Regions from separate parts of the Homo sapiens genome. Here regions 1 and 3 are each linked to region 2. The links are contacts of gene promoters, found by promoter capture Hi-C in blood cells and fetal thymus (Javierre and others, 2016). All regions are on one chromosome and are shown on one strand. Each heading gives the region's core, a stretch centred on a gene start or on the middle of the fragment in contact. The rest is flanking DNA. Distances are from core to core; before and after follow the strand shown. Region 1 overlaps AIFM1 (apoptosis inducing factor mitochondria associated 1). Region 2 holds the start of BCORL1 (BCL6 corepressor like 1). Region 3 overlaps ZDHHC9 (zDHHC palmitoyltransferase 9).

Evidence for each region. Contacts are between HindIII fragments. The CHiCAGO score rates a contact against its expected background, and 5 or more counts as called.
Region 1: a contact is called between a fragment that was not itself captured here and the fragment with the promoter of BCORL1 in region 2, in 2 of 17 cell types (non-activated CD4 T cells and activated CD4 T cells). The highest score is 10.2, in non-activated CD4 T cells.
Region 3: a contact is called between a fragment that was not itself captured here and the fragment with the promoter of BCORL1 in region 2, in 9 of 17 cell types (activated CD4 T cells, total B cells, naive B cells and 6 more). The highest score is 8.5, in activated CD4 T cells.

The regions. Positions count from the first base shown.
Region 1 is chrX:130,126,018-130,130,081 of GRCh38, forward strand. It overlaps AIFM1 (apoptosis inducing factor mitochondria associated 1), which reads right to left. Exons shown (of 16, transcript NM_004208.4): 15 at 3,953-4,064; 16 at 3,345-3,611. The coding sequence ends at 3,540. It also overlaps a transcript of RAB33A not described here. Among named protein-coding and RNA genes, the nearest start is that of ELF4, 18 kb to the left of the region's middle. The HindIII fragment of the contact is 9,973 bases long and covers 1-4,064 here.
Region 2 is chrX:129,979,783-129,983,937 of GRCh38, forward strand. It overlaps BCORL1 (BCL6 corepressor like 1), which reads left to right and starts at 2,853. Exons shown (of 14, transcript NM_001379451.1): 1 at 2,853-2,980. RefSeq lists silencers at 272-341, 3,682-3,918. The HindIII fragment of the contact is 8,398 bases long and covers 1-4,155 here.
Region 3 is chrX:129,835,270-129,839,813 of GRCh38, forward strand. All of the region lies in intron 3 of ZDHHC9 (zDHHC palmitoyltransferase 9), which reads right to left. Among named protein-coding and RNA genes, the nearest start is that of ZDHHC9, 6.3 kb to the right of the region's middle. The HindIII fragment of the contact is 3,218 bases long and covers 1,558-4,544 here.

The sequences.
Region 1 (4,064 bases), core at 200-2,699, 140 kb after region 2:
GGCCAAGGAAAGCGAGGTTGAAGTCAAATGGGTGGGCTCTAGATGACTGCTCTTTGGGCAAAGCCTGCCTCTTCTTCCCAGGGTGGGACTAGCCTTGCACCACACTGTGGTGTGGCCCAGCTTATCACAGACCAGCTATTGAGGGCCAAACCTCGACTGGCACTGCTTGTCTGTGGAGTCAGAAATCAGACCCTAGAGGCCAGTGGCTCATGCCTGTAATCTCAGCACTTTGGGAGGCCGAGGCAAGACAGATCACCTGAGGTCAGGAGTTCGAGACCAGCCTGGCCAACGTGGCGAAACCCCATCTCTACTAAAAATACAAAAATTAGCCGGGTGTGGTGGCGTGTGCTTGTAATCCCAGCTACCCGGGAGGCTGAGGCAGGAGAATCGCTTGAACCCAGGAGGTGGAGGTTGCAGTGAGCTGAGATCACCCACTGCACTCCAGCCTGGGCAACAGAGCGAGACTCCATCTCAAAAAGAAAAAAAAAAAGAAAAGAAAGAAAGAATTTGGACCCCAGGATCCTCAGGGGCTTGGGCAGATTAAATGCATCCTGGGTAAGTGGCAAGTTGTGACAGCTGAGTGAAGTGGTGATGATCTGAACATCCTCCCATAAACAACCTGAATTACAGAGATCAGAGGTTACAAGACAGAGGTGCATTTTTACAGTCAGCCCTGTTATCTAGCATCATCCAGCCAATCAACCAAGGACTTGCTCAGCACTTCACCAGGGTGCAGCAATATGGTCCCCATCCTGAAAAGAAAACATGGGCTCTGCTCTGGGACAGGTGACAATTCCTTTAGAATGACTTAAAGAACAATTACACTCAAAGGTGCTAAGTGCAACTGGAGTTCAGAGAGAAATCATGCATGGGCACTAGTCCAACTGGTACCATGCCACCAAGGCAGGACTTGATGTAGGCCTTGAAAGATGAGTAGGATTTGGATAGATAAAGGGAGGAGGGATGGCGTTCCGGATGTGAAGAGCATGAACACAAGTTTAAAGGTGGCAATAAACCAGGTGTGTGTGTGTGTGTGTGTGTGTGTGTATGTCCATATTAAAAGTCAGGCGGAAAGTCAGCCAAACAGAGTGGGCTTAGTACTACAGGAGACTTTGAACTTGATGTGGTTGGTGACAGGGAATCACTGTACATTTTTAAACAGGGAGGGGACATGGACCAAGTGGTGGCTTTAGGAAGTGGTCTAATAGCAGTGGTTGACTCAGGATGGCTGCTGTGGCTGATCTCTCCATTCTTGGCATGGCCACAGTACTTTTTGTGTCCTTCTGTGGACGTAGCTCATTGTATTGGAGTTCTGCATCCACATGTCTGCATTCCTCACGGACACCAGGAGGTCCTTAAAAGCAGTGGCTATGTTTTATCTATGTTTCTATTCTGACATCTACCTGGCTCACAGGAGGCACCCAATGAACACTGATTAGATGAATAGATCATTTAATTTCAATCCACTGAACTACAATGACATACTATACAAGGATAACTACTGTCAAAGAATTTGACAAAACTGTATACAACACTAAAGCAAGACAAATCACAATTTGATCTTTTCTTAATGATTTGTGGAACACTAGGATCTTAGTCTTACCCCCATCTCTGTAAGCAGCAATTACTGCTGTATAATAATTTCGATGTCACAGGATACTAGATGAGTTTTCCTTTTTTTTTTTTTTTTGAGATGGAATATTGCTGTGTTGCCCAGGCTGGAGTGCAGTGGTGTGATCTTGGCTCACTGTAACCTCCGCCTCCCAGGTTCAAGCAATTCTCCTGTCTCAGCCTCCTGAGTAGCTGGGACTACAGGTGCATGCCACCATGCCTGGCGAATTTTTGTATTTTTAGTAGAGATGGGGTTTTACCATGTTGGCCAGGATGGTCTCGAACTCCTGACCTCAGGTGATCTACCTGCCTTGGCCTCCCCAAGTGCTGGGATTACAGGCGTGAGCCACTGTGCGCAACCCTAGATGAGTTTTCTACATATAGATTTGGATATATCATTTGGATATGATCACATTTGAGTAAACCTGTATCTATATAGTATTGTTCGGTATACCTGTACTGCAAATTCTTACGGTGGAGATTTGGCCTGTTCTCCCAGTGTTCAGAAGGGATTTGGTTGAAGCTGAAACTGCCCTTAATCAAACCCAATATTTAAAAAAAATCCAGACTGGTAATAATTTTCTCTTTATATACATGGAGTTTAACAACAGGACTCTTGAAAGTAGTAACAAATTCCTCTTAAATAAGATTTGATGTTTTTAGGCCGGGCGCGGTGACTCACACCTGTAACCCCAGCACTTTGGGAGGCCGAGGCGGGCAGATAACCTGAGATAGGGAGTTTGAGACCAGCCTGACCATCATGGAGAAACCCCATCTCTACTAAAAATACAAAATTAGCCAGGCGTGGTGGCGCATGCCTGTAATCCCAGCTATTTGGGAGGCTGAGGCAGCAGAATCACTTGAATCCGGGAGGTAGAGGTTGTGATGAGCCTAGGTCGCACCATTGCACTCCAGCCTGGGCAACAAGAGCAAAACTCCATCTCAAAATAATAATAATAAGATTTGATTTTTAAAAGTTAAGCAATCTAAAATGCCAAACAATGAGTTGACTTGTGAAACTTTGAATCGTATTCCCAGGAAATAATCTGTAAAGTGAGGTATGCCCATAAGCGTATTTCAGAGAAAAGGAGCTTAAGAGAGGACAGATGTCTGGCATGAGGACAGCAGGCAGAAGAGTCAAGAGATGATGGTCCTTCCATGAGTCCGTCTCCAGGTTTAACTGTGAAGCACCAGGTCTCTGAACTCAGATTTGTAGTAAGTGCCCTTTCTGTCCCCTGCAGGACCCAATCCAGTTCTGGGACAGGAGTTGTTCCAGGTAAACAAAGTCTATTCCATACATTTATTTGTTCACTCATTCGACAATGATCTATGAAGCACTTACTATGAAGCAGACCCTGTGCTAAGCTCTGGAGATAAAACCATGAGCAAGGCCTTAACATCAGGGCTTCTGCTTCCAGGAAGTCATGGGCTAGCAGGGAGACACATACACAAGGATGAGGCTTGGAAGGCTGGGAAAGTCTTCAGAGATAGTGAACTTCCTGAGAGGAGAGGAGGGGAGTCAAGTGTTGTGGGCCGAGGCCACAGCAGGTGTGTGCAAAGAGGTCTGGAGGGGTGAGGGAAGTTCGGAAATGAAAGGAGTTTTGCGTCTGGAGTAGGGCATGAATACATGGCTGAGAAAAATCCTGTGCTTGGTCGGTGCTGCAATTTGCTTGCTTTCTAATATGCGTGGCTTTCCACCTTCACCCACCTGCCCCCTTGACAAGAGAACAGAATTTAATTTAGAAGAATCAGAATTTATTTCACTATGTGAACATTAAGAATTTACCTACATAGTTGAAAATATTCACAAAGGACTTGATCATTCACACTCATACACAGAGAAAGTCTGCTGAATAAAAAAATGCTCCTTTACCCATTCGACCTCCTCTCAGGGGCTGCAGTGGGTTTGCCAATTCCACTGTGGGGCTTCAGTCTTCATGAATGTTGAATAGTTTGGCTACTTCATTGAGATCTTCATGCTGCTCACCGTCCTTAATGATCTGAGGGAGAGAGAGTAACAATAGGTCCCTAACTTACTCCATTGCGTTCAGGCCATGCCCACACAATGGGGCTACCTGGGGCAGTCCCCATATCACACTGGGAGGGAGTTGTGGGAACAGTTCTCTACTAACCCCAAACAAGCAGCCTGCCAACTCCCAGGTCACCCAGCCAAGTCCCAAGTGAAAAAGAATGTTCCTGAGCCAAGGCTATACCTTTGTTCTGCTCAGGCACAATTTGACCTGGCCGGGGGACAATGCATCTCAGGGCACCCGATGAAGTTACAGGAATGTTTCTAAGCCGTACTTCCCATCTTCCTCTAAGAGTTATGACAGGCACCTACCTTCCTTGCTATTGGCATTCGGTTAAAGATGTTCCATAGCACAATCCCCACGACCACTTTGTCCCTGAGGTAGAAGATGACACCTTTGCCGTAGTCCTCCCCCTGGACGGGA
Region 2 (4,155 bases), core at 1,603-4,102:
GGCAAGGCGGCGAGCCCTGGCATTTTCCTTTCCCCAGCACCTGTCCCACTTCGGCGCCGGGGCTGGGGCTGCGCCCGCGGGCGGCCTCGGAGCTTGAGCGCCAGAACCACGCACTGAGGTCGCCCAGGGTGGGGAAGTGGGGGGCCGGGGGAGGGGCGGGGCATCCGGCGGGGAGGTCTCCCCCACCGCATGCAAGACCCTTTGCCCCCCCACAACATACACTGAGGCTAAAACGGGGATGAGAGTCACACAGAGCAGGAGCGAAATCTTTCGCTCTCCGACCCGAACGGCGCGTTGCTCGACCCCCCCCTTCCTGGAGCCAGGGGCTGGCCGAGGAAGGTGGCTCCGTTCTTCCCCCGTGGCCAGTGCGGGGTCTGCGGCTGCCCGGCGAGGTTCCGGCTTCCCCGGGACTGGCAGGGGGAGCCCCGAGAACTGCAGGCCCGCCCCCCCTTCCTCCTCCTCCTTCCCCTCCTCCCCCACGTGTCCTCCCTGAGCCCAGCAGCCTGATCCCAGCACCCCCCGCCACCTCCCTCCTCCCGCTTCGCCCGCTTCCCCGGCGGCGTGGAGAAGAGCAAAGTTGCGACAGCGGCCGGGGGCTCTGCCCAGGTAAAGGGGGCGCCGTGAGGCGGGGGTGGTGGGGGAACGGTGCGGCCCTGCGGCGGGGGCGGGGGGAGGATAAAGAAACTTGCTTCCCGCGGCCCCCACCCCGCGTGGGTTCCGATCTTGCGTGGAACGAGCCCGCGTGGCGAGTCGCGGCAACACTGCCGGGACCGAGGCCGGCACCTGGACCCGGACCCGGACCGCGCGCTTGGGCCGGCTCGGCGGGCGCAGGCAGCGGGCCAGGCCAGCACCCAGGCAAGGGCGGGGTGGGTGGCCGTACACCGGACCGAATCGGGGACTCCGGTGGCGTGGGCGCGGGCCGAACCCCGACCGGGCCGAGTTGGGTGGCGAAGTAGGACGTGGATTCGGGGGCGGGGCGCGGCGGGAGGGGGAAACCAGGCCTGGCCAGACTGGCCTGGGCGTGGGGGCGGGGGGCGAGTTCGGGGCACTTGCTGGGCTCTGGACCGAGCGGTAGGGCGGGGCGGCGCTAGGGGCTGGGCCGGACCCGCAGGGAGAGGGCGAGGGGAGGGAGAGCCGGGGGTGGAGTAGGGGCGTGGAGTTGTGAGCGGGGTCTGGCCTCGGCCGGGGGCGAAGGTAGATCGGCGGGGCCGCGAGCGGAGGGAGGGAGGCCCGCGGCGGCGCGGCGGCAGCGAAGGCCAGCTTCCGCGGAGTTTGTGCCCGGGCTTCCCGGGCTCTGGCCGCCTCACGCGCACAAATGGGGCTAGGGGACTGAGTGGTAAGCAACTCCGAGTGTTAGACGGTGATCGGGCGGCGATTCCGGGAAAAGCGAGGAAAGACACAGTCTGCGATTGTGCCGCACCCCCCACCCACCTCTTAGCATCTGGATTCTGCTCTCGTAGTGGGGGCCGCGGACCCTCCCCGCCACAGTCCTTTTACTCTCCAGCACTCCCACCGCCTTCCCCCTTCTTCAGCCATCTGACTCTCCTAGGGGTATGTGTTTTTGGGGGTGGACGGCGACGGGGGTGGGGGATACTTTCCTTCCCGTGGCGGCAACCTAGTTCGTATCTTATTCCTACAAGGTAGCGTCGCTTCGAGTCGCATGGACATTGGGGTTTAGATAATTTACCCCCCACCCAAGCGATTTAATGGCTTTTAAGCAAAAGGCGAATACCTGGATTTCCATGGGAGGGATGAGGTTTGAAGATTGGGATTCACCCCTAGCTCACTTCCACTACCAACCCCTCTTTCTTGTGAGCCACTTCCACGGGTATTCAAATCTGGGGGGGAGGGGGGACGGGAGTATTAATATGCTTCTCTATTTCTACACAGGGTCGGCGTGGCGAAGGACGGCTAGCCTTGGAGGGAAAGTAGCCACCAGTCCAACTCGGGTCGCCCCCACCATTATTTCGGTGAGGGGGCAACGCTAAGAAGGGGATACTGGTGGGTAGGGGCCCAGTATAAGGGAGGGGGCTGGGTAGTCGTCCCCAGAAGGACTCCGTGTCTTGGCGGGGAGAGAGAGAGGCGAGCCCCGGCTTCAGGGGAGGGGTTCCGGGGAGGGAGATGGGGGGGTGGCGACGACGGTGGGGGGGGGAGCGGGAAGAAGGGGGAGTCACGCCCTGCCTGCAAGGGGAGCCTCCCTCAGGCCCCTGGGAGAAGGGGACTGAATGCGTCTGTTCTCCGCTGCCCGGCAGAGGAGATCTGGGGTCTCGAGATTTGCACACTGGATCGGCACCAGTGGCCTGAGAAAGTCAGGTCGGGGCATAAGGTGGAGAACGTTGGAAGAAAGAGAGAGAACCCTTTGGCCGCGGCTCACTGACCCTCTCCCTTCCTCAACCTCCCCCTTCGAGGGGCGTCGAGGTGGGGGGGGACGTGGGGCTCCTGCAGCCCCGCAGATTGAGCGCCTCCGCCTCTCCCAGGAGTCTAGCTTTTTGCCCGGCTTGCTGCAGCCACTGCTGCCTCCCTCTCCGGAATCCGCTCGGTCCTCTCAGCGATCCCCTCCTCCTCTCCTCCCCTCCCAGTGTCACCGGGGCTGCTTGGCTCTGCCCCCTTCGCCGCCGCTTGCTCCCTGCTTTCGTCCCTCCCTCTCTTGCTCGCTCCCTCCCTTCGCCTCCTCCTCCCCATTCCCCCCCACCCGCGTAGGCCGCATTCTGGGAGTTGTAGTCCGGTGGAGCGGGGGTTGGCGCCGCCCGCGGACCCAGCCGGACTCCACTTCCCGTCGAGCCCTGCGACCGGCACCCACTCCACCAGGCTTCGCTCGCACACAGACACACACACACACCGCTCTCCCCCTCACTCTTTCGCTCGCCGCGGCTGCTGCCAGTGTGTGGCTCTGTCTCTCCTCCGCTTTGCTGAGCCCTCCCTTCTTCCTCTCAGTTCCTAGAGTCCGACCGCCGCCGCCGCCGAGAGAGAGGAGAAGGAGGTCGGTGGCGATAAGGGGCGGAGGGGGGCATCAGATCGGGGCAGTATTAGGCGGGTGGCGGTTAAGAGGGAGTAAGAGGGAGCCCGGGTGGCGGCCTGAGCCTCCCCGCGGAGCCGACCCGGGAACAGGTGCGTCTTTTTTCTCTCTCCCCCAATCCCTCCACCCCTTTTGACTCCCCGGCTTTTTCGTATCCCCCCACCCGCTTCTTTCTATCTTAAGCCTTTCTCCAACCCTGTTCCTTCTTTTCCCTGCGGCCGCTCGGCTTGCCCCCCGGGGGCGCCGTCCTCTTCGTGTCCCCGGACGTAGCGCTCCCTGGAGCTGGGTATGTCTTCGCCCCTCCCTTCGGGACAGCTCCCTTCCACTTCCCACCTTCGTACCCCATCCCCTGACTTGCCCTACCCCCTTCTCGACCCCCTTCTCTCTTAGCCAGGTGAGACTCGTTCGCCACGATCCAAGAGAGTCTTCTTCCCGGCTGGGCGGGGGTCTCCATGGAAACGGGGGTCGGTTGATCCTGGGGGGGAAACCATAGGAATTACCCCACTCCTCGGAAAGGGAGGTGGAGGCTATGGTCTTGTTAACTACCTGACTCCAACCCCCGATCCAAGGATCCGACGATCCGAAGGGAGGCTGGCTAGCAGGGCAGGGCGAGAAAAGGCTTTTTTTTGGGGGGGGGGGGTGTCCGTGATGAAGTGTTGAAGAGACCGGGAGAAAATGCCCTCCAACCTCAGAGGGGAGGTGCGACGGGTGCTCTTCAGGGCTGCTTTCTTCCCGGCGCTGGGGTGCGGGAATCGTAGGGTAAGGGGTACCCCTAGGTGGCGGCGGGGCCTGGGTTCGGGAGTGGGAGTGCTGTGATGGGGGCAGGGGCAATTATCCGAGTCCCTGGAAAAAAGGCGGGGGATGACTTCGGAGCGCCCTGGCTCCGCTGCCCTCGCTCTAGGGGCGGGGGCCGCCGGGCCGGGCGCGGCGGGGAGGGGGCTTAAATTGAAGGAAGATGAGATCGGGGGCAATTCATACTAGCACCGGCAAGCCAGAGGGGAGATCCGGCGTGCAAGCCCTCCACCCGCTTCGCGCCAGGCCTGGAGGCAAGGGGTCGGCGAGCGAAGCCGAGGGCTGGAAGGAGGGAGGCTCCGGTTACGGGGCCGGGTTTCGGGATCAGGGGCAATCCCCCGGCCCTT
Region 3 (4,544 bases), core at 1,917-4,416, 140 kb before region 2:
GATCCTGTCTCTACAAAAAATACAAAACTTAGTCAGGCATAGTGGCTCACTCCTGTAGTCCCAGATACTTGGGAGGCTGAGGTGGGAGGACTGTTTAAGCCCAGGAGGCAGAGGATGCAGTGAGCCAAGATCACACCACTGCACTCCAGCCTAGGCAAGAGAGGGAGACCCTATCTCAAAAAAAAAAAAAAAAAGAGGAAAAAAAAGAATTATTAAAAGAAAGCAAACTGCCGCCAGGTGCAGTAGCTCACGCCTGTAATCCCAGCACTTTGGGAGGCAGAGGCGGGCGGATCACCTGAAGTCAGGAGTTCGAGACCAGCCTGGCCAACACGGAGAAACTCTGTCTCTACTAAAAAATACAAAATTAGCAAGGCGTGGTGGCGCATGCCTGTAATCCCAGCTACTCAGGAGGCTGAGGCAGGAGAATCGCTTGAACCCGGGAGGCGGAGGTTGCAGTGAGCCGAGATTGTGCCATTGCACTCCAGCCTGGGCAACAAGAATGAAACTCCGTCTCAAAGAAAAAAAAAGAAAAAGAAAAGAAAAAGAAAGCAAACTGTTCAGGAGATACAACCCAAGGAACTCTTGGGAAGAACTCTCTCTCAAGGAACATACTTCATCAGGAAGTTAAGTTTAGCTAAGTACTGTAACAGATTGATACCAAAGAGGCAACTATGCCTTTCTAAAACTCATTTGGTTAGTCAAGTCACAGACAGAATCCGAAGCTAGATAAAGCCAAGACTGACCTCCATAGAGTCATTCCCCAGAGAATGCACTCTTGGTTACAGAGCACAATATAGTCACTTTTTCCTCTTCCCAATCTCACATAAGGATGCTCTTCAGGAACCTGGACCTTGTCACTGTGGGCACTAACATTCTGGTATGTCAAAGTTTGGCTTTGGTCTACATAGTCTTGTGTCTCCTCAAACCTAGTAAGTTCATATTATCAGGTCTGCTTTTTCTATTTCACCTGTCTGCCAGACACACCTCCTCTTTCTTTTTTCTATTTTATTTATTTATTTATTTATTTAGATGGAGTTTTGTTCTTGTTTTGTTGCCCAGGCTGGAGTGCAATGGCACAATCTCGGCTCACTGCAACCTCCGCCTCCCAAGTTCAAGTGATTCTCCTGCCTCAGCCTCCCAAGTAGCTGGGAATACAGGTGTGCACCACCAAGCCCAGCTGACTTTTTGTACTTTTAGTAGAGACAGGGTTTCACCATGTTGGCCCGGCTGGTCTCGAACTCCTGACCTCAAGTGATCCACCTGCCTCAGCATCCCAAAGTGCTGGGATTACAGGCATGAGCCACTGCGCCCAGCCCACACTGCCCCTTTCATCAGGATAAGTCACTAAGTAACAATGTACAGAGCACACATTGCTTGATTTTTCTCCAAGCCATCCTCATCTTGGCAGCAGGGACCAGGAGTGGCCACAGCAGTGATGATCCCTTGTTAACTCACAAAGCTCCTGATAGGCTTCCCTGTTCCTGCAAGGCTACCAGAAATGCCATGCTGCAATACCATCAGTTCTCTGCAAAGATGCCTTCATTTTCTAGGAGCATAAGCTTGGGAGACCCAAAGAGCCTAGATGCCACTGGGTAACACACACACTAGCTCGCAAGAATCTGGAATATGCTGGCCTAGTATTTGGTACTATGTACACTTTACTAAAGCATGTGTGTTTGAATATCTTCAGGATTCCATAGCCAAAGGGTAACAATGAACAATGAGATAAAATGTCGAAATTAGAAGAAAAAGCCCTGAGTCAGTATAGAGACGTTGGCTGGTCAACTCATCTTGATAAAGGAAACTCACTTCTGTGGGCCTGGTTTCCTCACCCCACACAAGGAGGGAGATAGTCTCCAAAGCCCTTTCCAGATCTACCATCCTATGATTCTGTGGGTCAAGATTGTTAAATTTTAAGTACATCTAGAATGTTTTAATTCAGCAACACTTATTGGCCATCTACTCTATGTAAGGCATGGTAGAGAGCACTGTGGGGGCTACACAGCCATTGAACATAGTCTCTGACCTTGAAAGAGACTAGCTGCGGGGGACAACAACAGTGAGAAGTGTAATCACCATATAGCTCCAAACTATAAGAAATGTCATGTGATTATCTGTTGAATGAGCGGTGTGTACAATTAGCCCAATGAATGCAGAAATTACTGGAAAGTTTTCATGAAGAAAGACTCAAGAAAGAATTTGAAAGAGGGGTAGAATTTGGATAGGCTAGAAAAGTATTGTTTGTATTGATTACTATTGATTACTAAGCAGTGTTACAAAGCTGTTTTCAGTTCATCCAATTCAATGACTCTTCTGCCAATATATACATCAAAAGCTCTAATGGGGACCAACCTGACAGAACCTGGTCTGACAGTGCCTTGATAAGATTTCCTTCATATACAGAGGACACAGTGAGACCATAAGCACTGATTATAGCAGCAAACTGCTTCTGCTTCAGGGGTCAAGAGTCTCATAGTCATTCTTGCCACAAGAGAAGTCTGAGGACCTTGATCCCACTAGTGGCCAGGTCAGAAAGCTAAAAGAGAAAGCTGGAAGCCAATTCCAGGAGACAGTGCACTTGTTCCTTTCTCCAGGATCACACTTTATCAGGAAGTTGAATTTGACTGAATACCACGATAGCCTTTCAGTAGCTGGATGTCTCCTAGGTTGTCAGTGGCATTCTGCTACAGTGTCCTAACACTTCAGGCCAAGCTGGTAGCTATGTGTTCATCGCACAAGCTGGATAGAGCTTAAGCAGAAAGAACTGAAAATTGTTCATGTGCTCAAAGCTGAAACTAGCAATACACACTCACATTTCTTAAATACCTCACCCTAAGAATTAATTAGAAAATCCTTTTTCTTTAAGCATTATACCATTTTTCACTCTGCTTTTAAACTTAAATACGTTTACCATGAATACAATTATATTTAAATATAGCAACCTACTGGTAATCTATAATCTCCTTTTGTGTGTATTTGAGTCTTCCAGACAGACACAGAGTTATACAGAATTTCAGGTTCTTGGAGTTGCAAGAGGCTTAGTGAATATTTGGCCAAATTTCTACTCGGTGACAGCGGCCCGAGAGAGACCCCCCGGCTTCTTCAGAAACACCTCTAACAGGCCGGGCGCAGTGGCTCATGCCTGTAATCCCAGCACTTGGGGAGGCTGAGGCAGGTGGATAACTTGAGGTCAGGAGTTCGAGACAAGCCTGGCCAACATGGTGAAACCCTGTCTCTACTGAAAATACAAAAATTATTTGTATTTGGCAGGTGTCTGTAATCCCAGCTACTCGGGAGGCTGAGGCAGGAGAAGTGCTTGAACCCGGGAGGCAGAGGTTGCAAAAGCAGAGATCATGCCACTGCACTCCAGCCTGGGTGATGGGGCAAGGCCCTGTCTCAAAAAATAAATAAAAAATAAAAAATAATTAAAAAAAAAAAGAAACACTCTAACAATACAGAGCTAACTGGCCCCAGGATGGACAACTTTTTTTGTTTTATGTATTCAATCTACTATGTGTCCACTGAAAATTACAGGTCACTCATTTGAAAAGTCTTCTAGAAGATATGTAAAGGCATAATCCAAAAATAAAAGGACATCTGCCAGCACTGCTAACATTATGCGTTTTTCATTAAGGGGCACCCACATGCCTGACCAGACTTCTCAAGCCATCTGGCTGGCCCAGAGCTGTGCTGCAGGCAGCTATAAATCAACTCACACTTGTTCCTAAGCACCTGCTGCAAGCAGGACCCTGCTACTAAAATGCAGCTCCAGATGTGCCTCAAGATTTGGACTATCTTCCCACAAGGTAAAAATACAGCAGCCAGAGGATGTGGAGTCTCTACTCCTAGACAATGTAAGAATGAAAATAGATCACCATTTGTCTATTCAGACACCCTCACCTGCCTGAAGGCAGGGGGCTAGATCAACTGATTTCCTGAGGCCTCACTAAGTTCTTTTTTTTTTTTTTTTTTAAGACAGAGTCTCACTCTGTCATCCAGGCTAAGATCTCAGCTCACTGCAACCTCCGCCTCCCAGGTGCAAGGGATTCTCCTGCCTCAGCCTTCCGAGTAGCTGGGACTACAGGCGCACAACAGCCACACGGGGCTAATTTTTGTATTTTTAGTAGAGACGGGGGTTTTACCATGTTGGCCAGGCTGGTCTCGAACTCCTGACCTCAAGTGATCTGCCTGCCTCGGCCTCCCCAAGTGCTGGGATTACAGGCATGAGCCACTGCGCTAAGTCCTAATACTAACAAAGCAGCCCACATTCTGCTCCCCAAACCCTGCCCCCACTATGTGGTGGACAGGAAATTATAGATGCCAAAGAAAAAGGCCGACCAGAAGGAGATTTCATTCCTCAGAGGCATGCTGGTGTACCTTGTACAACCTGTCACTGGCTAGGCACAAGGCAGCCACCACCTAAAGTGTCTATGTGTCTGTATATGACAGACACACACACACATACACAAGCACGCACATCCACACATGTACAAAGTATTCATCACCAGGGTCCTCTCCTCTGTGGTCACATTTCCACCTCCCCC